2 separate regions of the Homo sapiens genome follow, and region 1 is linked to region 2. Evidence: promoter capture Hi-C in 16 types of primary human blood cells and fetal thymus (Javierre and others, 2016). All regions are on one chromosome and are shown on one strand. The core of a region is centred on a gene start or on the middle of the fragment in contact, and the rest is flanking DNA. Distances in the headings are between cores, read along the strand shown. Region 1 overlaps GRIP1 (glutamate receptor interacting protein 1). Region 2 holds the start of IRAK3 (interleukin 1 receptor associated kinase 3).

Evidence for each region. The method cuts DNA at HindIII sites, captures the fragments that hold promoters and counts their contacts. A CHiCAGO score of 5 or more calls a contact.
Region 1: a contact is called between a fragment that was not itself captured here and the fragment with the promoter of IRAK3 in region 2, in 1 of 17 cell types (neutrophils). The highest score is 5.3, in neutrophils.

What each region holds. Positions count from the first base shown.
Region 1 is chr12:66,383,592-66,388,858 of GRCh38, reverse strand. All of the region lies in intron 19 of GRIP1 (glutamate receptor interacting protein 1), which reads left to right. Among named protein-coding and RNA genes, the nearest start is that of HELB, 84 kb to the right of the region's middle. The HindIII fragment of the contact is 3,914 bases long and covers 1-3,823 here.
Region 2 is chr12:66,184,646-66,190,583 of GRCh38, reverse strand. It overlaps IRAK3 (interleukin 1 receptor associated kinase 3), which reads right to left and starts at 1,370. Exons shown (of 12, transcript NM_007199.3): 1 at 1,152-1,370. The coding sequence starts at 1,284. RefSeq lists silencers at 1,036-1,195, 1,216-1,265. The HindIII fragment of the contact is 2,960 bases long and covers 1-1,706 here.

The DNA of each region.
Region 1 (5,267 bases), core at 617-3,116, 200 kb before region 2:
GGTCTCTGCTCCCATGGAAGAGGTTACCCAGCTGAAGGGACAGTCAGTTAACAAATAAACAAACAGTGGCCCTATCACTTCGTTAGTGAAAAGGGAAATAGAATGGAATGACGAAACCTTGTGGGGAAAGAAGGGATATGTTTAAGGAAGTCCCACAAGGGGCTGATTCTCAGTTCCACTGTGTGGCTGACTTCTTCCAGTTGGCCTCCAGGTCAGCTTCTTTCACTCCCCATTGTCTTGCCCATTAGATGCCTCATGCCCTTCTGCCTTATCAAAATCTTAGGCATTTGGCCTCCTTGCATCTTATTAATTCTTCCTTCTAACTCTGAGAAAACCCTATGACTGCTTTACTTGGATTTAGCAAAGGTCAATACAAGAGGAGACTGGCAAATTGGTGGTGGTACATAGACTGCCATGCTCGCGGGCTGAATAGCTCTTGTGCTCTCTGTAACTTTGGACTCTCAACTCAGATAGCTATATTTCTATCTTATTTTTCTCCCTTTTGAGGTCATTTTGATCATTTGTTTTCTCTCAGAAAATGAAATTATTTCATCCAGATGTCAAATGTATTTTATATAATTAATCTCTTTTTTAATTTTTTATTTTCTCAGTTTCTATAATTATATCCATAATATTGTTCCTTAATTGGTATATTTGTGGTTTTATTATTTTCCCCATGATTCGATTAGTAACAGTTTATTTGATTTCTTTGTTTGGTTTTTATTTTTTCCCAGAGAACTGACTCTTGCATTTATTTATTAGTTTTACTCTAGTTTTTTTTTTTACGTACAATTTTACTTTTAATTTTACTCTTTCATTCAGTTCCTTTTAAATTTTATTCCTTTTATGACTTAAGTTGGATGCATGATTTATTTATTTTCATTGCTTTATAAGGATATATTCCTTCTTTGTGTTTTCATAAGGATGATAACTGAAAGGACACCAACATGTGCAGTCAGAGTCCAACTTTATTTAATGTCATTAAAGAATACAAATCATACAGAGGATAGCACAGAGTAGAAACCCAATGGTATCCTCCTCTACTCATTAGCAGGATTTTATTTTTCTCTTTCGTTTCTCTTCTGATCTCTACAAGCTCATGTTTCATCATCATCTTGCCTTGCCCAATTTCTCTAGAGTTCTTATATTTCTGCTTTGATCTCTTGTTTTATAGAGGTGATGGCTTTGCTGTGTATTTTTTAAATTTTGTGATTATTTCTGATTGGTCATGTTTATCATTTGCTCTGAACCAGGCTTTTTCTCATGAGTATTCTTCATCTGCTATCGCTTTGTTTTTCTATGCCTTTGCTCTCATTTGTCTGATATTTACTTGGTATACATGTTATGCCAATTCCTTTTCAATTACTGCTCACCACTGAATGAGATGAGTTCTTCCTGAACTGGAAGCTGCTAGAGGCTCTGTTTCCAAGGTACCAAACACACCCCAGTTCCAGCATGGTATGTGTGAGTAAATTCTTCCCCAGCTACCAGAGAGCAGCAACAGCAGGCTGCTCACAAAACAGAATTCCTCTCTGCTATCCTGCCTCATTGAGCAATTGCTCCCTTCAGTCTGTGACATGTGTTCTCTTTCCCTGACTTTACCTTGATGCCAGATGGGATCACATGTACTTTCTGCCACCAGCCATGCAGTGCATACTGGTGTTCCAAACAAAGCATTGGAGTTTTGCCTCATGCCACCGCCCCTGCTTTGGTAGACTGAGTTGTCTACCAAAGAGTAGTTTGGTAGTCCTGGCCATAGGTGTCTTCTCTCCACTTCTTACCACCACCACCCCCTTCCCATTTGACTTCCACTGGATTTATGTATTATGTATTTTCTTATGTATTATGGTCTGAGATTACATGAACACTCTAGTTGTGATTAAGATGGAGGTTGCATTCTGTTATTTATCATTACTTTTTGTCTTGAGGTGATTTCTGAGAGAAGAGAGAACTGTCTTTGCATTGACATTTAGATCACAGCCTCATCTGAATACTTTGAATATTTCTTGGCAAGATCAATTACAAATAGTTACACAAACATATGATTTGATTTTCTCATCCTTCACAAAACTGGGTCTTTAGAAAACAAATTTGGCAGCGAATTAACTGGCTCTCTTTCCTGTACTAAAATTGGTTTCCAAGAATGAAAGTAATGGCAAGAGCTACAGTCCCAAAATTGTTGAGATGAAAATTGAATTCTATTTTTTTTTCTTTTTTTGTTTTTTGAGACGGAGGCTCGCTCTGTCACCCAGGCTGGAGTGCAGTGGTGCGATCTCAGCTCACTGTAAGCTCCGCCTCCCGGGTTCATGCCATTCTCCTGCCTCAGCCTCCCGAGTAGCTGGGACTACAGGCGCCCACCACCACGACCAGCTAATTTTTTGTATTTTTAGTAGAGATGGGGTTTCACTGTGTTAGCCAGGATGGTGTTGATCTTCCTGACCTCGCGATCCACCTGCCTCGGCCTCCCAAAGTGCTGGGATTACAGGCGTGAGCCACAGCGCCCGGCCGAAAATTGAATTCTAAACTTTATGAATATGAACCCACACTGATTAGTTCACTTTTCTAAATTAATGCTGGGTATGAATTAAAAGCTACAAATATTAATCTGTATTAGTACAGAAAACCAAATATTACAAGGTTGGAATGTTAGAATTTTACAAATATCTAAGGCATAGTTACCCTAAAAATAAAAATCATCCTATCAAGATTCCATCTACTTTCAGAAATACCTACTTTGCTGTTTTCCACTTGTGCAAATAAAGACCTATTTTTTATGAAGACCTGTTTTCCATTATGCAAATAAATAAAACTAAACATTAATATCAGTGAAAGGAATCTGGACTAAATTTTATACCTCCTATTAGGATACAAAGTATAAGATCAGATATGGAAACCCAGATGTAAAATAAAGAAGGAAAGAAGAAAAAGTTGCCAATTCTAAACCAAAGGAGGCCAGGCATGCAGGCCCACATCTGTAATCCCAGCACTTTGGGAGGCCAAGGCAGGCAATCACTTGAAGTCAGGAGTTCGAAATCAGCCTGGCCAACATGGTGAAACCCTGTCTCTACTAAAAATTCAAAAATTAGCTGGGTGTGGTGGTGTGTGTCTGTAATCCCAGCTACTCAGGAAGCTGAGGCAGGAGAATTGCTTGAACCTGGGAAGTGGAGGTTACAGTGAGCCAAGGTCATGCTGCTGCACTCCAGCCTGGGCGATAGAGTGAGATTCTGTGTCTAAATAAATAAATAAATAAATAAATAAATAATCCAAAGGAGAAATGACTTAGGACCATACATTTTATTTATTTTTTATTATTTTATTTTTTGAGACCGAGTTTTGCTTTTATCACCCAGGCTGGAGTACAATGTTGCGATCTTGGCTCACTGCAACCTCTGCCTCCCAGGTTCAAGTGACTCTCCTATCTCAGCCTCCCAAGTAGCTGGGACTACAGGTGCCCACCACCACGCCCAGCTAATTTTTATGTTTTTAGTAGAGATGGTGTTTCGCCATGTTGTCCAGGCTGGTCTTGAACTCCTAACCTCAGGTGATCTGCCCGCCTCAGCCTCCCAAAGTGCTGGGATTGCAGGCATGAGCTACCGTGCCCTGCCTGAGCCACCGTGCCTGGCCAGTACATTTAAAAAACATTATTTCTTTTTTCAACTTATTTATTTTATCAATTTTTAATTTAAAATGTAGTTTCCAATATTATATGTGTATTTCATGTGCTTACACCATCATTCAACAACAAAAAAAATTTCATTATCTATCTGGCAGTTGATTTTTTCTTACGCCTGGGCTGCCTCATTTATTCCCTGGCTTTTAAGCTTGACTCCTGGTGTAAAGGAATATTCCTCAGAGCCTGTTAACTTTTTATCAGTAATGGCAACAGGTTTGCCTTTTACCTAAACATAATTTTCCTCAGATATTCCCTCTTTTAAATCATGGTATCACCAGCCAGCTGTATCAGTTAAAGGTCAAGTTTAGCTGATTTGAAGATTTTCTTCTACATACGAAACAAAATTTAAGTGATGGCATTTAAGCAACATCAGGATTTATTTTTCCCATGGTGTCATCAGGACCCAGGTATCTCACTCCCTCTACTCACTTAGCATCTCTGATGTCCCTCCATTGCCACTGCCTTTGTTTCAGGCCTGATGAAATATGGTAACTCCTTCCTCACTTATCTTCTTACTTTGAGCATCTTTTCCCACATTTCTATCTATAATCTTTAGCAAAACCAAATCTAGTCATGCCACTCCCTTAAACCAAAAAAACCCTCTTTTGATGGTTATCTATTGTTATAGGATAAAGTCAAAGGTCTTCAGTTTAAAACACAGGGTTCTTTGTAATCTAGTCCCCAAATACTTTGTCAGTCCATCTGCTGACACTTCCTTGCAGTACCTTTTAGTACACATACCCGGAATATCTCACAATTCTCTAAGCAAGCTTTGCATTTTGGTATCTTGATAACACTAGGTATTTTGATATGTTAATTAACCTCTTAATCGGTTTCAAATCCATTGAGAAATAGAAATGAGAGTCAGCTATGGATTAAAATATCAGCATTTCATTTTATTTTTTTGCTAGAAAAAGCTGGATTGGTCCTGCAGCCAGAATCAGGATAATTATTTTCCTACCCTCAACCCAAGTCTAGACATTTAAATTTAAATAAGACGCAAGTCAGATCTACACAGCAAACCATAACTGAACTGGTTACCAATCAATGAGATTAGGTTCAGCTGAAGAGAACTGAAAACTCTAATAATACATTGACTTACATTATAAAGAAACAGGCACTTCGAGCTGGTATGTAACTCCACAGTGTCATCAGAGGCCCATGCTTCTAAATATTTCGGCTCTGTTTTGCTTAGCACTTGACTTTCATCCTTGGGGTCACCTCATAGTCCAAGACAGTTACTGGGGCTCCAGCAATTTCATTTGCATTCCAGACAGCAGTAGCAAAGATGTAAGGAGCCTTCTCAGAAGTCCCCTTAGCTACGTCATTGACCAGAACATTTCACTAAGTTGCACTTAGCTTTGAGAGAAGCTAAGAAGTATAGTTTTAGTCTGAGCAATAATTTGCTCACCCCGAAACTGGTATTCTGGTACTAAGGACGAAGAAGAGAATGAATGTTCTGATGAGCAACAGGTAGTCTGCCATGGTTATCCAACTGCCTAGTCATGCCTTTTCTTGCCTCCATCAAGCTCAGAGAGCCCCAAGATTGTGACCCAGGCTTGCTTACCGCACAGCACAGCAGCAGTGGGAGAGA
Region 2 (5,938 bases), core at 121-2,620:
ATTCACCAACATTAAACTGGACTAAAAACACTTTTCTTTCTCAAAGTCAGTAACTCTAGGAAATCAACGGGTATAAATACTGTCCACGCCAAAATCCATCTCAAAAAGATCTGATGGGGAAGTGACCTTATCCCTCAAAATCCCTCAAATGCACACTGGAAATCTCGTTTTCTAGAAATCAGACTTTTTTTTTTTTCTTAAGGGCCATAACTTAAAATTACAGAGCTTAAAATATATAAACATTTTTTGTATAACCAGAAGCCCATTGCTACAATTCAAAGACTGTCACCATACTGTTCATCAGTAACAAAGAAAACTCTCCTCTTAGGCCTTCTGCTAGTCCTGGTAAGAAAAATCCTATTTCAGACCATTAAAGCTAAGTTATTTTGACATAATCATGATTCTTTTCAATAAACATTAAACATGACATTGTGGAATATCAAATCTAACCAAAAATGCCTGTACTTAACAAAACGAAGATTTTTGTCCGAATTATCTCTGGCTACACTCAACACTTCCAGCAGGCAGTTGCTCAACTTTCCAATGTCTGCATAAAATACAGTTCTGAAGCCAATTTTTTTAGATTAAAATAAAAAGCCACCCTTTAGCATAAACCTTCATTCAACGAAATTGGGTAAATAAGATTTAATTAAGAAAATTAGGAGCCGCGTTCATTGCAAACCGTAGTTTACTTTAGCATTTCACTTGTAATTAAGTTAGGGGCTTAGGGATGCATTGAAAACACCAAAGGATAAGTATCTCAAAGTTCTAAAAATGTCTCAATACTAAAATGATGTTCTGGGGTGATTTTGCAAGGACCAGAAGACATCATACATTGCGAACCCAGTGAGGGTGGCATCGCGGACGAACAGAAGATGCTTTCACGCTGGTTATCTGTCTTTCCCAGGCCTCGGCTCCCTTGACTTTGCAGCGATACCCAAAATTCTTTGAAAGAGAAGGGAGGGAAGGCATCTGGGTCCCAGGGAGTCTCTGCATCCAACCCAGGAAAGGAGGGGGCCGGCTCCCTGGCGGGAACTTCCCGGAGGCCGCGCCAGCCCCGCGAGGGACCCCAGCCATGCAGGGCGACGCCGAGCGGGCCCCGCGGCGCGCTGGGCTCCCCCGCCGCCCCCGGCCGGTCCCCGCCGACTCACCCAGGCCGCGCCAGCCCAGCGCGCCGTCGCAGCTGTCCAGAACAGCGCAGAGCTCTCCGAGCAGCGCGGGCGGCAGGTCGAACAGCAGCGTGTGCGCCGACAGCGCGCCGCGGGCCCCACAGTTCCCCGCCATGGCTCGGCTGCCCGAGCCCCGGGGACGAGGCGGAGTCCAGGTCCCTGCACGCCTGCGACAGGCCGTTACACAACCGCGGAAATCCTGCTTCCACGACGGCAGCAGAGCCCTAGGAACACGCCGTTCTCCGGTCACTGCAGGGGCGGTGCCCACGTGACGCAAGGCGCGCCTCGCCCGAGATGCCCCTGCGTCCGCCTGGCCAGGCCTGGGGGTTACCCGACCCGGGTTCTCCCTTCGCTGGCTTTGCGCCCCTTCACACCTCTGCGGTGGGGACGGAGCTGCCGAGACAAGCAGAGTGCGAACTGGAGAAAGCCCAGAGCTCAGAGCTCCCAGGAGCCCACCGTGCCCCACGGCTAGGCGGTCTCCTGGTGTGGACGGCTAGCGGTGTCATTACTTCTTACAAAAGTTTATTTTTGAAAGCTTCTCCCTTCCTTCCTTCTTCCCTTCCTTTCTTTTCTTCCTTTTTTCTTTGTTTTGAGTCAGGTTCTCACTCTGTCGCCCAGGCAGGAGCGCAGTGGCGCTATCTCAGCTCACGGAGCCTCCACCTATTGGGCTCAAGCGATCCTCCCACCTCAGCCTCCCGAGTAGCTGGGACCACAGTCGCACGCCACCACGTCCGGCTAATTATTTTTTTTCGTTTTTCGTAGAGAGGGAGTGTCGTTATGCTGCCCAGGCTGGTTTCAAACTCCTGGCCTCAAGCGATCCTCCCACCTCCGGCTTCCCAAAGTGCTGGGATTCGGGGTGTTAGCCACTGTCCCGGACTACTTCTTTTTTATCCTGTCAGAAAAACTATCCATGTTCATCGAGGAACACTTGGAAAACCCAGAAAAAAACTGAAAAAAGAAGATAATCACTCACAACCCCACTCAGCCCATCACACTCTAAAAGTTTTGACACATTTTCCTCCCAACTTTTACTGAATTTAAACAGATAAAAATGTACATATATGGGATTATTATTGGAAAAGATGAATGTAGATACCAACAAGAGAAAAACAGAAAAGACACCAAATCAGCGTAAAATTATGTTCGTTTTCTTCACGAGGCGGCCTCTCCTCCATACACCTACTTGGTTTTAATAAATTTTCTTCCTCATGGGCTTCCTTGATGAAATATCGTTCCATCATTTTTTCCTTCCTCAAAGTGCTTCACACAATCTTCCTTTTTGCCTTCAACATGGAGTTTAAGTAAAATTGTTGTTTTGAAATCTTCACGGAGTTTAAGTAAAATTGTTGTTTCAAAATCTTCTAGGTCACATGAGGCATGTTACCAGTGACAAAAAGTTGTTTTGAAAGTGGTGAGAAAAATCTCAGCCTTAGTGACTGGAAGAGTGGGCAGTGGCCATCAAGTGAAAACACCAGAGGTGTTTTGAAACCTCTCAGATTGTAGTCTTTGGAATAGCTGCCCCTAGAGATCACGAGTGATGAAACACTATCATTTCATGCCCCTACCTGAATGGTTTTGCCAGCGAAAATACTTCATAAAAATGTATCTGAAAACTGGCAAAGCCCATACTGTGTGGGCAAGAATTTCGATATCCCGTTGTTCAAGGTTTTATTGTCAATCTGTACACACTGTACACCTACCTACCTTCCTTCCTTCCTTCCTTCCTTCCCTCCTTTCTTCCTTCCTTCCCTCCTTTCTTTCTTATTTGTTTTTTTTAGTCGCTCTGATTGCCCAGGTTGGGGTGCAATGGTGCGATCTCGGCTCACTGCAACTTCCACCCCCTGGGCTCAAGCCATCCTCCCACCTCAGCCTCCAGTACAGCTGGGACTACAGGTGCATGCCACCATGCCTGGCTAACCTTTGTAGTTTTTGTAGAGACGGGGTTTTCCCATGTTGCTCAATCTGGTCTCAAACTCCTGGGCTCAAGTGATCCACCTCCCTAGGCCTCCCAAGGTTCTGGGATTACAGGCATGAGCCACCACACCCGGCCCTCTATACATCTCTTAAAGGGACTACCTGAACATGCTGAGCAACAGAGGCAAAAGGCCATTAATTATTTGGTAGCTTTTGAATTGCTACTACAGGGAGGCAAACTCACTCAGAGGAAACAGGAAATCACTGCAGATGAGGGAAGCAATCAGAAAGGCCTGCTTTACCAGATCTTGTAATTTACCAAGAAGCAAGGATCCTAAGTGAAAGCTAGAGTATGTGAAATTTCCTGTATTTTCAGTGTTGGCAGTCGTTCTCAGACCATGTTGCCTTCCTATTCCTAAAACTGTCTTGAGTTTTGATTTTTATATCATCAGGTTGTATCATCATGGTTGCTATCAACTGCTGATCTCCCCGACTCCAATTCCTTCTCCTCGTTTTTAGACTCTCTAGCTCCTGGCTCATTGTTGCTCTCTCCAGTACTAATCCTATCTTAGTTCTCAGTGATTTAAAATATATGTAGAATAACTATTCACAATAGCAAAGACATGGAATCAAGCCAAATGCCCATCAATGATAGACTGGATAAAGAAAACGTGGTATGTATACACCATGGAATACTATGCAGCCATAAAAAGGAATGAGATCATGTCCTTTGCAGGGATAGGGATAGAGCTGGAGGCCATTATCCTCAGCAAACTAACACAGGAACAGAAAATCAAATACTGCATGTTCTCACTTATAAGTGGGAGCTGAACCATGAGAACACATGGACACTTGGTGGGGAACAATGCATACTGGGGCCTGTCAGGGGAGGGGGTAGGGGGAGGCAGTGAATCAGAAGCAATAGCTAATAGATGCTGGGCTTAATACCTAGGTGGTGGGATCATCTGTGCAGCAAACCACAATGGCACATATTTACCTATGTAACAAACTGCACATCCTGCACATGTACCCTAGAACTTAAAATAAAAGTTGATGAAACAAAATTAAAACATACACACACACACACACACACACACACATATATATATATATATATGTAGAATAGATGGTGATCTTTCCAATGCCCTGGCCTCTCATTTCCTTGACTCCTCTTCTCTGGTGACATTGTACTCCACCCAATGCTCCATTTCAGACACTTACTCCCATGAGCGTCCCCTAGAATTTGTCATTATCAATAGCTGCATCCCATCTATAATTTCTTTCATGAATCCACTCTCTGATCATACCTCCTGTCTTTCTAGCACATTCCCTCTAGTACTCTGACCCCAACAATCCTGTCCCTTCACCAGATATCCAATCCAAAATCTTGCTGCCTCTTTTCTGGCTCCACCCTCTTGACATCCTGACTTTTCTGCTTATCCATTAAGTCTGTGGTCAATTATTTTATTCACTCCTTTGCATATGCTCTACATTCCCTTGCTCCTCTCTCACTTTGTTGAGCTCTCTTGGCAAGTTTGCAATTCTGATTAAATCCAATTTTCTAAGTTGGCTCCACACCCATGCACCTGAGTGTAGCTGGGGAACGGGGTGGAAAACCAAAATCCTGTTAATTGAACTCAATTTAAAATCAAGGCCAAGACTCTCAAGTGGGTCCTTTATGCCACTGGACAAGCATACTATGCACCTTTAGCCCATGCATTCTTCTGGTCTCCTTGAAAGCTATGCTATACTTTCTTTTTTCTCAACTCCCATCATCCTGTCCTCCACCAATTATCTTGAGAATATTTATTGAGAATACTGATGCATCAGGAAAAAACTTCCACGGAATCTCACTACTACATCGAACTATCTACTAGCATCTTTGCCAACATACTCTTTCTTCGTGTTTTCCATGGATGAATTATCTAGGGTCCTATGTAAATCATTATACTTCGTTTGTGCACTGGATCCTATCCCTATTACCATTTCAAAGGCATCAAGGGCACATGCTTTCCCTGGTCCCTGTTACATGATCAGTTTTTCACTCTTTACCACCTCAATTCCATCAGCATACAAATATGATGTTGTTTCTTTCAACTTAAACCAAAATTTTTTTAAATTTTATTATTATTATACTTTAAGTTTTAGGGTACATGTGCACAACGTGCAGGTTTGTTACATACATATACATGTGCCATGTTGGTGTGCTGCACCCATTAACTCATCATTTAGCATTAGGTATATCTCCTAATGCTATCTCTCCCCACTCCCCCCACCCCACAACAGGCCCTGGTGTGTGATGTTCCCCTTCCTGTGTCCATGTGTTCTCATTGTTCAATTCCCACCTATGAGTGAGAACACGTGGTGTTTGGTTTTTTGTCCTTGCGATAGTTTGCTGAGAATAATGGTTTCCAGTTTCATCCATGTCCCTACAAAGGACATGAACTCATCATTTTTTATGGCTGCATAGTATTCCATGCAAACCAAAATTTTTGATGCCACTTCCCCCTTCTGTCTTTGGCCCCAATTCTTTGCTCCCCTTTGCAGTGTCGAGCTGAATATTCTCACTGTGTCCAATGTTCTCCTCCCATCTTCTCTTAAACCAACTCTAATTAGAAGCACCCCTCCCACTTTACTCCACTAAAACTATTCTCTTCAGGGTCACACATGTCCACATCATTGCTACGTAAAATAATTAATTTCCAGTCCTCACTTACTTGACCTATTGGTAGTTTTGATACAGTTGATCACCCCCTCCTTGGAAACTTTCTTCATTTGACTTCTAGGACACCACATTCTCTTATATTTTTCACTTACCTCATTGATCACCCCACAGCTTCCTTTGCTGTTCCTCC